Regions from separate parts of the Homo sapiens genome. Here all the other regions are linked to region 1. The links are contacts of gene promoters, found by promoter capture Hi-C in blood cells and fetal thymus (Javierre and others, 2016). All regions are on one chromosome and are shown on one strand. Each heading gives the region's core, a stretch centred on a gene start or on the middle of the fragment in contact. The rest is flanking DNA. Distances are from core to core; before and after follow the strand shown.

The links. Contacts are between HindIII fragments. The CHiCAGO score rates a contact against its expected background, and 5 or more counts as called.
Region 2: a fragment that was not itself captured here is called in contact with the fragment with the promoter of ZNF197-AS1 in region 1 in 1 of 17 cell types (erythroblasts); the score reaches 5.0 in erythroblasts.
Region 3: a fragment that was not itself captured here is called in contact with the fragment with the promoter of ZNF197-AS1 in region 1 in 1 of 17 cell types (total CD4 T cells); the score reaches 5.3 in total CD4 T cells.
Region 4: a contact is called between a fragment that was not itself captured here and the fragment with the promoter of ZNF197-AS1 in region 1, in 1 of 17 cell types (endothelial precursors). The highest score is 5.4, in endothelial precursors.

Annotation. Positions count from the first base shown.
Region 1 is chr3:44,623,221-44,626,455 of GRCh38, forward strand. It overlaps ZNF197-AS1 (ZNF197 antisense RNA 1), which reads right to left and starts at 1,577. Exons shown (of 2, transcript NR_046658.1): 1 at 1,502-1,577. All of the region lies in intron 2 of ZNF660-ZNF197 (ZNF660-ZNF197 readthrough), which reads left to right. It overlaps ZNF197 (zinc finger protein 197), which reads left to right and starts at 1,816. Exons shown (of 6, transcript NM_006991.5): 1 at 1,816-1,923. The region is part of intron 2 of ZKSCAN7-AS1 (ZKSCAN7 ZNF cluster antisense RNA 1); the gene reads right to left. RefSeq lists a silencer at 1,820-2,169 and an enhancer at 2,149-2,651. The HindIII fragment of the contact is 2,284 bases long and covers 347-2,630 here.
Region 2 is chr3:44,320,389-44,323,623 of GRCh38, forward strand. TOPAZ1 (testis and ovary specific TOPAZ 1) reads left to right here. Exons shown (of 20, transcript NM_001145030.2): 17 at 639-803; 18 at 2,704-2,907. Among named protein-coding and RNA genes, the nearest start is that of TCAIM, 17 kb to the right of the region's middle. The HindIII fragment of the contact is 832 bases long and covers 1,268-2,099 here.
Region 3 is chr3:44,340,895-44,344,129 of GRCh38, forward strand. All of the region lies in intron 1 of TCAIM (T cell activation inhibitor, mitochondrial), which reads left to right. Among named protein-coding and RNA genes, the nearest start is that of TCAIM, 3.7 kb to the left of the region's middle. The HindIII fragment of the contact is 1,784 bases long and covers 891-2,674 here.
Region 4 is chr3:44,881,962-44,885,196 of GRCh38, forward strand. All of the region lies in intron 1 of TGM4 (transglutaminase 4), which reads left to right. Among named protein-coding and RNA genes, the nearest start is that of TGM4, 9.0 kb to the left of the region's middle. RefSeq lists an enhancer at 1,933-2,610. The HindIII fragment of the contact is 1,211 bases long and covers 992-2,202 here.

The DNA.
Region 1 (3,235 bases), core at 327-2,826:
TGAGACTCCATCTCAAAAAAAAAAAAAAAAAAAAGAAAGAAAGAAAGAAAAGAAAGTTTTATTCACAACATCAGTTTACAAACTCGGAGAGATAGTCTCTGGCTTGAACTGAAAGTGGTGCTCTCTCTGAAGAACAAAGAGAAGGTTAGAGGTTTTACAAAAAGGAGGAATGTTACATATTGCTCTTTGAGAAAGTTCATTGGCAGTAGTAAGGGTGTGGGGAGCTGACAAGCTCCAGTTGGTGAGCAACTGCGGTGGGCAAAATTAGTCCTAGAGTTGCAGCAACTTATCTCAGAAGCTATAGATAAAACTGGTTTTGGCTTATAATAAGCAGTTTCAGCAGTCAAGCTTACAGAGAATAACATTCCTGGAGCAATGTTGTGTACCCTGAGTGCTTCCCCCAGCTAATTTCTCGACTTTCTTTTATTAGGTATGACAAAAATGACCCAATTCTTATGATCAGCTTTCACATTTCTTAGCATTTACCACCACCTGACACATTTTTATATTTGTTTTCTGTTTATCCCACTAGAAATGTAAGCCCCATGAGAACAGAGACTTTACCTCTTTATCTATGTCCCTAGTGCCCAGAACAGTATTTGGCATATGGCAAGTACTCAGTAGTTGAATGAATGAATGAATCAAGGCTGAAGTTTAAGTATGTTGTTTAATGAATGCCAGGAGAGAACATAAAGAAATAAACAGAATAAGCCTGGCACGGTGGCTCACGCCTGTGATTCCAACACTTTAGAAGGCCAAGGTGGGGGTGGATCACCTGAGGTCAGGAGTTCAAGACCAGCCTGGCCAACATTGTGAAACCCCGTCTCTACTAAAAAAAAAAAAAAAAAAAAAAAATAGCCAGGCATGGTGGCACGTGCCTGTAATCCCAGCTGCTCAGGAGGCTGAGGCAGAAGAATCGCTTGAACCCGGGAGGTGGAGATTGCAGTGAGCCAAGATTGCGCCACTGCACTCCAGCCTGGGCAACAAGAGCAAAACTCCATCTCAAAAAAAAAAAAAAGACATAAACAGAATAACATGAACCTTGCTCATTGAATAAACATTCATCTACAACCTATATGGCTTCAGCTTTGTACTAGGTGCTAAATACATGGGATCCATGCAGACATGGCCTTTGCCCTTTTGGAGACTTGTTTCAGCCATAGTCCCATATAGGGGTGTCAGTTCCAGAAGTCCAAACTTAAGAGACTGAAGACCAAAGAGAGGATCAGAGTGCCAGTTTCCTTTATATACACCTGACTTTACCCAGGGCGATGGACAGCTAGAATAACCTCTTCTTTCAGGGGAGAGATGTCCCTACCATTTGCACATTACCTTGCACCATCAACTTGATTATTATTTAATATCATAGCTCCAATATGTCATCATGTGGGCAAGAGATACACCACAGTAAGCGAATTCACAAGAGGGTGATTTATAAGTCATGTTATTATTTATAGTGAGAATTGCATAAGTTCAAGAAGAGACCAGAAAAGTCACCTACCAGGTCATTCAGACGTGAAGGTCACTCCCTATCAACCTCAATTGAAATGCAAATCAAAATAGAAATGTCCAACTCTCTTAGGAGGCAACAGGCATCCTGAGACCCTGGGTCCTGTCTTTCATCTCTGCACCCTTCCGGTCTGAAACAGCGGCCAGTTCTTGTTCGATGTAAGGAACACTAGTACCCAAGGGCTCAGGAGTTCCGCCTCTCTTCCCCAGTTCTGGGAAAAGAAACGAACCATAGAGATGTGGCTTCCTAGAGATCCGGGATGAGGGGCGGGGTGCAACCGGAAGTCGCAGTATTCTCGGCTCGGCCATTATTCTGTGCCTCGGCTGCCGGAAGGGCTCGTTCCTGTGTCATCTCCTAGCGGCCTGGCGCCGAGGCGGCGGTACGCAAGGCTGGAGCCGCAGCGGGAGCCCCCGGTGAGCGGGGTGGGCTCGGGGGCGGGTGGGCGTGCAGGGAAGGCGGCCCGGGACGCGGGCCTGAGCTTGCTGGGACTGCACAGCCCTCGGTAGCCTCTCCCGGGCCCTGACCCCCGGCATGGTCCGTCGCCAGCTTCGTGTTGGGGTTCGACGTCGTGGCCTCGGCTGGGCAGGCAGCCGGCCCGAGGGAAGTACTGAGGACAGCAGCTCCGAGTCTGTGTGTGTTTGTGGACCGGTGCTCCTGTCTAACGGACTCTGCTGGCGCTTTGAGAAGAGCTGCCTCAGTAGCCTGCTCCCCCAGCTCAGGCCTTTCTGCTCTTCCTCAGTCTTGTCTGAGGCTAATCCACAGAAACATTCTGAGGTTTCCCTATTACCGGTGGCGCCCAGACTCTTGAGGACGGATTTTTTTGTTTGTTTGTTTTAAGGGGTGGAACGATTTTAGCTTTTTTAGTCTTTTAGTTTTGTAATATAATGGTATTTAAAAATCAAACTTGAAAAACTCAAACTTGAAACCACCCATACCAACATTACTTCAGGCAATACATTTTAACACAAAGTACTAAGACCGTAAACTCAGAATAAATGCTGGCCTTTGCGCGCGCGCGCGCACACACACACACACACACACACACACACACACACACTCATTGCCAACCTGTCAGCGACGATTGTTACTGGTTTTCTCTTTTTGCAGCTTACCAGATTAAAGCTTTGTCGTGGACTGGTGTTTGGAAACTGTTGTTTTAGAACAGTTTGGGTTGTTTGGGTTTCATAAGTTTCTTCGTAGATGGAATTGTTTTGGACTTCTGGAATTAGAATCCCTGAATTCAGAATTTGCTCCCATGTCTCAGTTAGCTAAGTGGCCTTGAGTGGATTCGCTCCTCTGATCCTTTTGTTTTTTTTAACTTCTGCTTTGAAAACCTTTTGTGAGAAGCTAATAAAATGTATGTTTAAGAATTTGTTATTTTTATGTTATTTGAAAATTATTCAAAATTCTTTTTAAAAATTCCTTTCCATCACCCCCAGATCAGTTACCAAGGACTACCAAGTTTTTCTCAATTGCCTTATCCCTACTTCGTTTAGAACTTAAGTCATGTGTTTAGACTATTAGAAAAACCTAACTGACCTTTCTTGATATCCAGCCCTCCCACCCCCACCATTTCTCACTAATAGAGTCCTGACACCACTTAAGACTCTCTTCATGCTCAGAGTGAAAAAGGTCTTTCTAATTGTGGTACAGTACCCAGAAGTCGTAAAAGATTGACTGCATGGCAAAAAACACTTTAAGCAAAGTCACATGGCATATATAGTC
Region 2 (3,235 bases), core at 434-2,933, 300 kb before region 1:
AGATCGAGACTGTCCTGGCTGACACAGCGAAACTCCGTCTCTACTTAACATACAAAAAATTTAGCCAGGTGTGGTGGCACGCGCCTGTAGTCCCAGCTACTCAGGAGGCTGAGGCAGGAGAATCACTTGAACCCGGGAGGCGGAGGTTGCAGTGAGCCAAGATTGCGCCACTGCACTGCACTCCAGCCTGGGTGACAGAGTGAGACTCCATCTCAAAAAAAGAAAAGAAAAGAAAAGCTATTCCCCAGTAATACCAAAAACTAATTAAATTATTTATTGTGAAATTGTTAAACTTGTCCACATAAATAATATTTTATGTTAAAGCAAATATTTGTGATAATCTGAACTTTTTTATATAAAAATAAACATTTAAAATTAGTAATTGACTAGTACACTTAGATGAAGAATTAATTAAAAATAAATATAACAAAGTGGCCATTTGTTTGCATCTTCTTCAGATGATGATCATCACTATATAAGTTATTTCTAATAAATTTGAGCCATGGTTATCTTCTCTGAGTACATATGTTTAAGTTTTGCCTGTTTCTTCAAAAGATATATTGAAACATTAGTTGTGATTATACTGTTAAGTGTCATTTTCATGGTATAAACTATTCATATTTTTTTCTTTTTGGAAGAGTCAGAGTGGATAATCAATACGCCTCTGTGGCCTTGTGATAGACTGGATGTGCTTAATCGACATAATTTACTCTGTACAATTGCACATGAAATCTTAGCCAAGAGCCTTTATAGACAGACATTTGAAGTTTTGCAGAATCTACCAGGTTTTCAAAATTCCCAAGGTATGTTTTTTAAAAGTCTATCTTAATTATCTCTTGCCCATCTGGTGTTTAACTGTTAATAAGAAATAGTTATCCACCTGTTTTGATTGAGTTTTATATTCCAGCATATTTTTTAATGAAGTAGTTTTCTGTAAAATATGTTCTCTGCAAATTGAATATACTTTCCTGATGGTTTAAAAAAATCTGAGATGCTTATCTTTGGGTTGTTTGTCAGCAGTTCCTAAGACAAGCATTTTTATCATTCCCTTTTCCCTACTTCTGTCAAGTCATCAGCAAACAATATGTTTAAATGCCCTGAGCAAGCTTTTTCTCTTATCACTGAATAAATACAGAACTTAGTTTACATTACCTAGGAACACAGGTAAACTTGAAAGAAATGGAGGAAGTGAAACAGATGCCAAGTTCAAACGCCAATGTGGGAAATGGTAGTCAGTACTCTTGAATGTTGGGTGTCCATGAGCAAAAGCTTTGGGTCAAGAATGAGCTATGTGATAGGTTCAGAGGATGACGAAAACGTTAACCTGAGGGCCTCCCCTCAGTACTTTCATCGTACTATCTATAAATTTTCATTTTTCCACTTAATTCCACTGTGCTCCTGTATTGTAATGAGCATTCTTATCTGTTTCTCCTTATACAAAGTGAGCTCAATCAGGATGGTACTATTTTCTTTACCTTGGTATTCCTGGCCCAATGGCTGCTATCTAGCAATCTCTTAATATACAATTAGTTGGTAATGAAACAAAGTAGTAATAGGGAGATTGGACAGATAGTTGTGCCAGATTTTGGAAGACCCTAAATGTCAGGCTAAAGGAATTTTCTTCTCTGTGTATAAAAAGGGATCACTAGAGTTTTGGGTCTAGGGAGTGATATAATGAAATTGGTGTTTCAGGAAAGTTCCTCTGGCAGTAGTGTTTAGGAAAAGACTAAAAGTAGAGAGATTAATTTCCTGATAAGTCCTGGATAACTAAAAGATTCTAAAGCAGTAAGGAACTACAGTCTAGCTCACAGACCCAACTGACTGAATATAGGGAATAAAAGAGAAGTCTCTAAGATGACTTCTCTTTCTTCTAAGAATAACTGAAGGAATAGAAAATCCATTAAAGGATTGTTTTAAATTTGGCAGTAAATATTTATTAGGGGATGATTTGTTTTTAGTCAAGGGATATATAAGGCTAAGGTCTGAACTGTAGATATAATACAAACAGAATTGAGAAATTATTCAAGACACTACAGATACACAGTTACATGTGGGAATCAAATACAGAGGTCTTAATGCATCCTCTGAAATTTTTGTCAAGCTTCTTTTTATCTTCTCTATTGCAAAGGAAGTTAATGGTTTTTCTTTTGTCAAATGCTTTTTCGTTTCTGACTTAGAGAATATGTAAGATAGGTTGGGCGCGGTGGCTCATGCCTGTAATCCCAGCACTTTGGGAGGCTGAGGCAGGCAGTTCACTTGAGCCCAGGAATTTGAGATCAGACGATATGGGCGTGTTCAGGGTGGTATGGCCATAGATGAGCCCAGGAATTCGAAACTAGTCTGGGCAACATGGTGAAACCCTGCCTCTGCAAAAAAACATAAAAATTAGCCAGGCCTGGTGGACCTGTAGTCCAAGCTACTTAGGAGGCTGAGGCGAGAGGATGACTTGAGCCCAGGAGGTGAAGGTTGCAGTGAGCCAAGATCATGCCACTGCACTCCAGCCTGGCTGACAGAGTGAGACCCTGTCTCAAAAAAGGAGAAGAAAAATAAAGAGAATATATAAAATGATTGCATTTTAGTGACTGTGAGTCCTATAATGGGTAAGAAAGGGTGAAGGGGAGGAGAAAGAAAAAGGAGTATGAGATGGAGGTTTGAGACACTTTAATATAAATGAATTTTATTATATCATTTTTTTTATTCCAGAAACTGTGGAAGTCTCACAATATAGCCTTCTTTTTAATAAGCTTCTAGGTTCCTGTATAGAAAGCAGTAGTCTTGGTATGTCATCCTCTGTGGCAGAATTCATGATTTCAAAGAGCATCCCTATTGATTTTTCCTTTCTCAGAAGATTAATTACTTCTTTAGGAAGGAGTCGTTTATGGCTCAAAGCCAGAGCCCACTACAAAAGTAAGTTACATTTAAAATGTTTTAATATATTGGTTTATAATTGTATTCTCTAACCCAGAATTTATAATATATAAGATTAGATATTTATATGTATTAAAAGAGCAGTAATACATATTCAAATGTAGTGGTCTCAACAGATCTGTGCTCTCTTTTGAAACCTATTGTTTCTCTTCTGTTTCCAGTTGCTTTCCTTATTTCCAATGTTTGCAATTTCCAATCTTTATTTCTTGCACAGTAGCCTGTCCGCTAGAGGGCGAGCAAAGGGAACAAATGACAGGATAGAACCAGTTTGGCATATCTTATAAATAATGCAAGCATAAAACAAGTG
Region 3 (3,235 bases), core at 533-3,032, 280 kb before region 1:
ATCCTCATCTGTCACTTAGTCGTCAGAGCCCATTCTTGAAGAGCTTACAGGAAATACTCAAAAGACTCATAGTACTCGGTTTTTCATTCTTATTCTTAAACAGAACGAGAAAATATATTTTTAATTTTTTCCAATGATTTGTATAGGAAGTGATCATCTTAGAGCAATAATTTTGTTGAATGGATAGCAGAATTATTAACTGAATATATTTTTATATATATAGGCATTTTCCTCTAGAAATATGAATTGGCTGCCATTGTGGGAGAGAGGAGAATTATTGGAAAAAGGAAAAGTCACATTCCCTCTCATTTCTCCCCTATTGCTCTCTCATTGTTTCTCCATGACCCAGAACACTGTCTTTAAAAAGTCAGTATTAATTCATAAAAAGACAATTCCCACAGCACAATATAACTTTATTATATTCACTTTAGGTTTTTATTTTGAAGAGAGAAATGCTACTTCCATCAAAACTTGTGTTTTTATTGGTTAGCAAGTGCCACCTTTGTCTTCAAATGGTAAAAGTAAACAACTAGCTATTTTTTAATTCTGATGAATTAAAAGTATTTTTCTAGAGAAAAATTTGTGAAATTATTCATCTGTACTTTTTGAATTGTATGTAGCCTTGGCAAAATTGCCTACTACCTTGTGTTTAAGACCTTCAGACATTGACTCCTTATTGTGATAATTCTGAGTTTTTCAACAAAGTTTTTCAAAATTTGTTTTTGAATAAAATGTTGTATTGAACTGCATGTTTGAGCAATATGTTATCTGACATTAGATGGAAAAAAATTATGCCATTTTTTAATACACTCTGACATAATAATAGTTGCAACTGTAATGAATTTTTTATTTACTAAATGTGGCTAAATCCCTTATGCATATTCTACTTAAGCTTCACAAAAGTTCTATGAAAAAGATAGCCCCTACTTTCATAAGTGATGTACCCCTGAAAACACATACACAAAGTCAGATGTGGGATTCCACATCCACAGTGCTTAAACATCATTATTAGGTTCTAAATTAGATTTCACCTTTTAGAAAAGTCTTATTGAATATTTCTAGCATTTTGTCTGTGTCTTTCCACCATTTTATCTTAAATGTGCTGTCCAGATAACTTCAGTGAGCATCAGATACAGACCAAATATCAATATAGATAACGTTTTCTCATTTGTATTTCATTTCGTATTCTTTATTACTAGTATTAGAATTGTAATTTTTCTTTTTTATAAAATAAAGACAAAATTCAATAAAATATTCACTAATTTCATTTACTAAATTGTACTCCTGTCTAGCAGATTAGCATTGTGTTAGCTCAAAGTATTCTCTCAGTTAATGAAAACTTAAGATTCAGAATTAAAAGGCAGTTTGGAGTGGGGACAGAATGTTTATATATATCCACATGTTTCTGCTGTAATGCCATTCTTGCATTCCTGGAAATCCTGACATGCTGCCAAACAATAAGCAAAAGTAACAGTTTGTGGAGAAAAAGCACACACCACTCAAAACTGAACAAAATTTTATAAGAGCCCTAACAAAAACCCTAACCCTAATAAACATGGTAGTAAAATTAAATCTAGTTTAGACCAGTTTCATCAAGATTAACATTCTAATCTAGGAGTAGCTTTATTTATCAATCAAATTTTTTTTTAAAAGACTTGGAAATCTCTAGCTTTTTCGTTTATCCTAGCACATTGCCAGATGGTTTGATGAAGTGGAAAATGTAGCCAGACTTGAACCCACTAAACATCTGCTTCTTAAACCAAAAGAAAGAAATACCAGGAGATTTTTTTTCCTTAAGGTCTTTACATATCACTAAAGCCTTTTTTTTTTTTTTAAATTGTAGAAAGCCTACCTCTGATCACTTCAAATCAGTAATATGTTGGGGGTAAAGTGCATATATAAGTCTTTCCCCTATTGACCAATTGCATATAAGCTGATTCACATTAAATAAACATTTTAAGGCTGGACACAGTGGCTCAGGCTTGTAATCTCAGCACTTTGGGAGGCCGAGGAAGGAGGATCAGCTGAGGTCAGGAGTTCGAGACCAGCCTGGCCAACATGGAGAAACTCCATCTCTACTAAAAATACAAAAATTCGCTGGGTGCGGTGGCAGGCGACTGTAATCCCAGCTACTCGGGAAGCTGAGGCACGAGAATCGCTTGAACCTGGGAGGCAGAGGTCGCAGTGAGCCGAGATCATGCCACTGCACTATAGCGCAGGTGACAGAGCGAGACTCTGTCTCAAAAAAAAAAAAGAAGAAATGTTTTGGTGTTACAACAGACTTTTCTTAACCATCTATGTTATTTAAGAGATGAGGAAACAGACTCCAGAAGGTAACGTAACTTGCCCTTGCTCACACAGTCACTGAAGATGTCAAGATTTGAATACAAATCTCAAGCCCCCTAGCCTCCATTTCCTAACCATTATGCAAACTACCTACTTTGACAGTCACATTCACTGGAAGTGTTTAGATCAGCACAATCCAATAAAAATAGAATGTAAGCCTTGGATATAATTTAAAATTTTCTAAAAACTAGATGTTTTACTTTTTAAAAAGTAAAAGTGAAATTAATTTTAATAAATTATAATTTCAACACATAACCAATATGAAAAATTATTACTGAGATACTTTCCATTGTTTGTACTGAATCTTTTAAATCCAGTGGGTATGTTAAGCTTAACACATCTCTATTTAGACTAACCACATTTCAAGTGCACAGTAGCTACATGTGGCTAGTGGCTGCCTACTGTTTTAGACAGCAGAGGCCTAGATTGTAATTCTATTACTCTACTGAAATGTAAACCTTTTTAGGAAATAGCTTGCTCACAAAATAAGCAGATAGAAAACACCTAATTCTCAACCTGTCATTTTTTTAGTGCTCTCTTTCTAAATCTGGAAACCATGATTTAATGTTTAGATTTGTATTTGGTAACATTTTATTTTTGTTGAGAAAATCTATTGTCACATTTCTAAGCACTAATGTCCTTTATTAGTCATTTCTCAGTAGTAGTTTAGTTATACTCTGTGATTACAAAGCGATTAGTGGATGAATGTATTTTTCTGGATAACTAAAGACCTTGAACTTTACACAAATTTTATTTTGCTTTGATTATTTTTGATGGAAATGCTTTTTTTTTTTTTTTTTTGAGAGAGTCTCACTCCATCACCCCGGTTGGAGTGCAGTGGTGCAATCTCAGCTCACTGCAAACTCCACCTCCCAGGCTCAAGGCCTCA
Region 4 (3,235 bases), core at 347-2,846, 260 kb after region 1:
GTCATCTTGCATTTATGACACTGCAAGCATTAAACTGGTATATCAATTTTGACCATCTATCCAAGTGCAATAGCTACAAAATAAAAATACAAACGCTTTTTTTTTTTTTTTTTTTTTAGAGTTGAGGTCTCACTTTGTTGCCCAGGCTGGCGTGTTGTGGCTATTCACAGCTGCAATCATAGCTCACTGCAGCCTCAAACTCCTGGGCTCAAGTGATTCTCCCACCTCAGTCTCCCGAGTAACCGGGATTACAGGTATGTGACTCCAAAGGCATTTTTTTAAAGACAGCCCCAGTGTGGCTTCCTGTAGTTCCAGGATTCCTCCAGCCTCCCAGATCTGCCTTAAGCAGTGCTCAGGTCACAGAGCAGTGCCCAGGAGAGGGTGAGGGAGGAGGCTCCAGTACTGGCCATCTGTTATGTGCTGTATGTTGGTTTCTTAGGGCATTCAAATGACCACAAATGAGGCTGCTTAAAACAACAGCAATTTATTATTCTCTCGTTCTGGAAGATAGACATCCAAAATCAAAATGTCCGCAGGGTCCTGCTCTTGCAGAAGCCTCCAGTGGAGAATCTTCCCTTGTCTTTCTTGGTTTCTGGTGGCTCCAGGTGTTCTGTGGCTTGCAGCTGTGTAACTCCAGTCTCTGCCTCCATCTTCACATGACCCTCCCCTTGCCTTTCCATGTCTCTTATAAGGACACTTATTCTTGGATTTAGGTCCTACCTGGATAATCCAGGATAATATAATCACAAGATCCTTAATCACACCTGAAAATCCCCTATTTCTATAAGGTCACATTCATAGGCTCCAGGTGGAGATATCTTCTGTGGGACCACCATTCAACCCACTATATGCCCATCTGCCTAACATTAATGATGGCCTGCATTTTGTCGAGTGCCTACTGTGTGCCAGGCATGTGCCAGGCACTCAATGTGCACACTAGCCACCAAGGGAGGGACTATGTTTACCATTCCAGGGAGATAAGGTCTTAAGAAGCTTCCACAGAGATGACTGCATTTAGGATTTGGATTTCTTAACTGCTCTTTCCTGCTTCCTGGTACCAAAACCTATACCTTTACCCCTTGGGAACCCAGGTCACCCACCTGCCCAGTCCATGGGGGAGCAGGAATAAGTCAGAACATGGGAGGGACTGTTAAAGCCCTTTTCCAGCTGTGATTGCTTTGCGATTGGCTCTGGGTCCCACAGCAGGAGCTCTGCTGTCCAGGGAAATGAAGAAGCCTTTCAGGATTGCAGCTCCTGACAGCATGCTATGGTTTGAATATGTCTCCCCCTAAAATTCAGGGGTTGCCAATGTGGTGATACTAAGAGGTGGGGCCTTTAAGAGTTGATTAGGTGATAAGGGCTTCTTCCCTGTGAATGAGATGAGGTGCCCCTCTAAAGGGACCTGAAGGAGGGAGTTGGTCCTCTCTCGCCCTCTGCCTTCTGCTATGTTACAATGCAGCAAGAGGCCCTCACCAGATGCTAGTGCCTTGATCTTGGACTTCCCAGCCTCCAGAACTGTGAGAAATAAATTTCTATTCTTTCTAAATGACCCAGTCTCAGGTATTCCATAACAGTGGCACAAATGGGCTAAGATGCTCCAGCTAGCCATCGGCCCACCCCAAGGTTTCAGCCCAAGAAGGGGAAGCACCTGGGAAGGTAGGTCTGTCTGCCAGGTGGGCCTCCCTGCTGGAGGCAGCAGGTTCCCAGGCCCTGTGCGCAGTGTGAAGGGAAGGCCACTTGCTGGGACTTGCCTTCCTGGAGAACACTTGTCCAGACCCCAATCCCAAAGCCACTCCAGCAAGAATGAGCTGTGCTGTCTCCAAACACATCACTGGCCGCATCCCCAAGGTAGGCATCTGATGTGGGCGTGACCACTCCACCTATTTTGTAGTCATGAAAGCCCAGTTTCCATGGCTGGCCTCCTTGATCTCTGCAGAGGATGGGTTTCCTCTGTGGGTGAGCCCTCAGGAGCAGAGGAAGGTCCCTGCATCTCACCTCACTTTACCTCACAGGCCACAGCGGGGCTTCCTAATCTAGGGGTTCTCCATATGTGCCTCCCTGGGCCAGCAGCACAGCGTCATCAAGGAAGCTGCTGGAGAGGCAAATTCTCAGCCACACCCCAGATGTGCTGAATCAGAAACTCAGGGTGGGTCTGGCAGTCTGTGTTTTACCATGCCCTCTGCACACTCGAATTGCCTGGAAAGCTTTGAAAACATAGAGGCTCAGCCCCACTCAGAACAATTGTATCAGAATCGCTGGGGGAGAACATAAGTAGTTTTACAACCCCCAGGTGGTTTCAGCATGCAGCCAAAACACATTTCCCTTCATGACTCATGAGCCTGGGAATGGTTTGAATTTTAGATAAAGGGGAGGGGTTTGGGTCTCAAGCTGAGGTAATACGAAATGTCATTATAACAGACACATGGTGAGAAATACATGTGCTACAGAAAAGGGTGTATTATGCATGTGGAGATTATTTCTTTTACTGAATGTACTTTTCACTTTAGCATTGAAGAAAAAAATCCCCTGTTTTTTTTGGGGGGGATGGAGTCTCACTCTGTCACCCATTCTGGAGTGCAGTGGCTTGATCTCGGCTCCTGATCTCAGGTGATGCGCCGCCCCCACAGCCTCCCAAAGTGCTGGGATTAGAGGCGTGAACCACTGCACCTGGCCTTAAAAATCCCATTTATAATGCAAGTAGTCTTGGCCTCAGATCATGGGAGCTCCTTGGTGCTTCCTCCTCAATTTGGATAAAAAGGCTTCACCCCAGCCACTTTGCACCCCACCCTTCTCTTCAGGATGTGAACTCTCACCTCAGGATGGTGTCTGACTTGAAGCTGATGGGAGTCTGGGCTGAACAGGAAGGGGAGCAATCCCAGGGCTCATCTGTTCCCTCCTCAGTTTGCCCGCTCCCCTCTTTCCCTTCAGCTTTTGTGTTGATTGACGGAGAACACCCTGGCACCAGGTTTGTTCCTGAGGCCATGTCTGCAGAGAGGGGGAGTTGGGGTGGGAAACTTGCCTAACAGCCACTCACAGACTCACCCTGTTTGAAACTCAGTTTCCTCACCTGTAAGATGGGCGTGCACTTACCTATTTTGCGGGGTTACATGACTAAGCACTTGAGTCCACTGCTCTCAGCTCATCCCCATGTAATCCCACAAGGTAGGTATGTGCACACCAGTCTTACAGGTGAAGAAACTGAGTCTCAGACAGATTCATAACCAGCTGGAGGTGG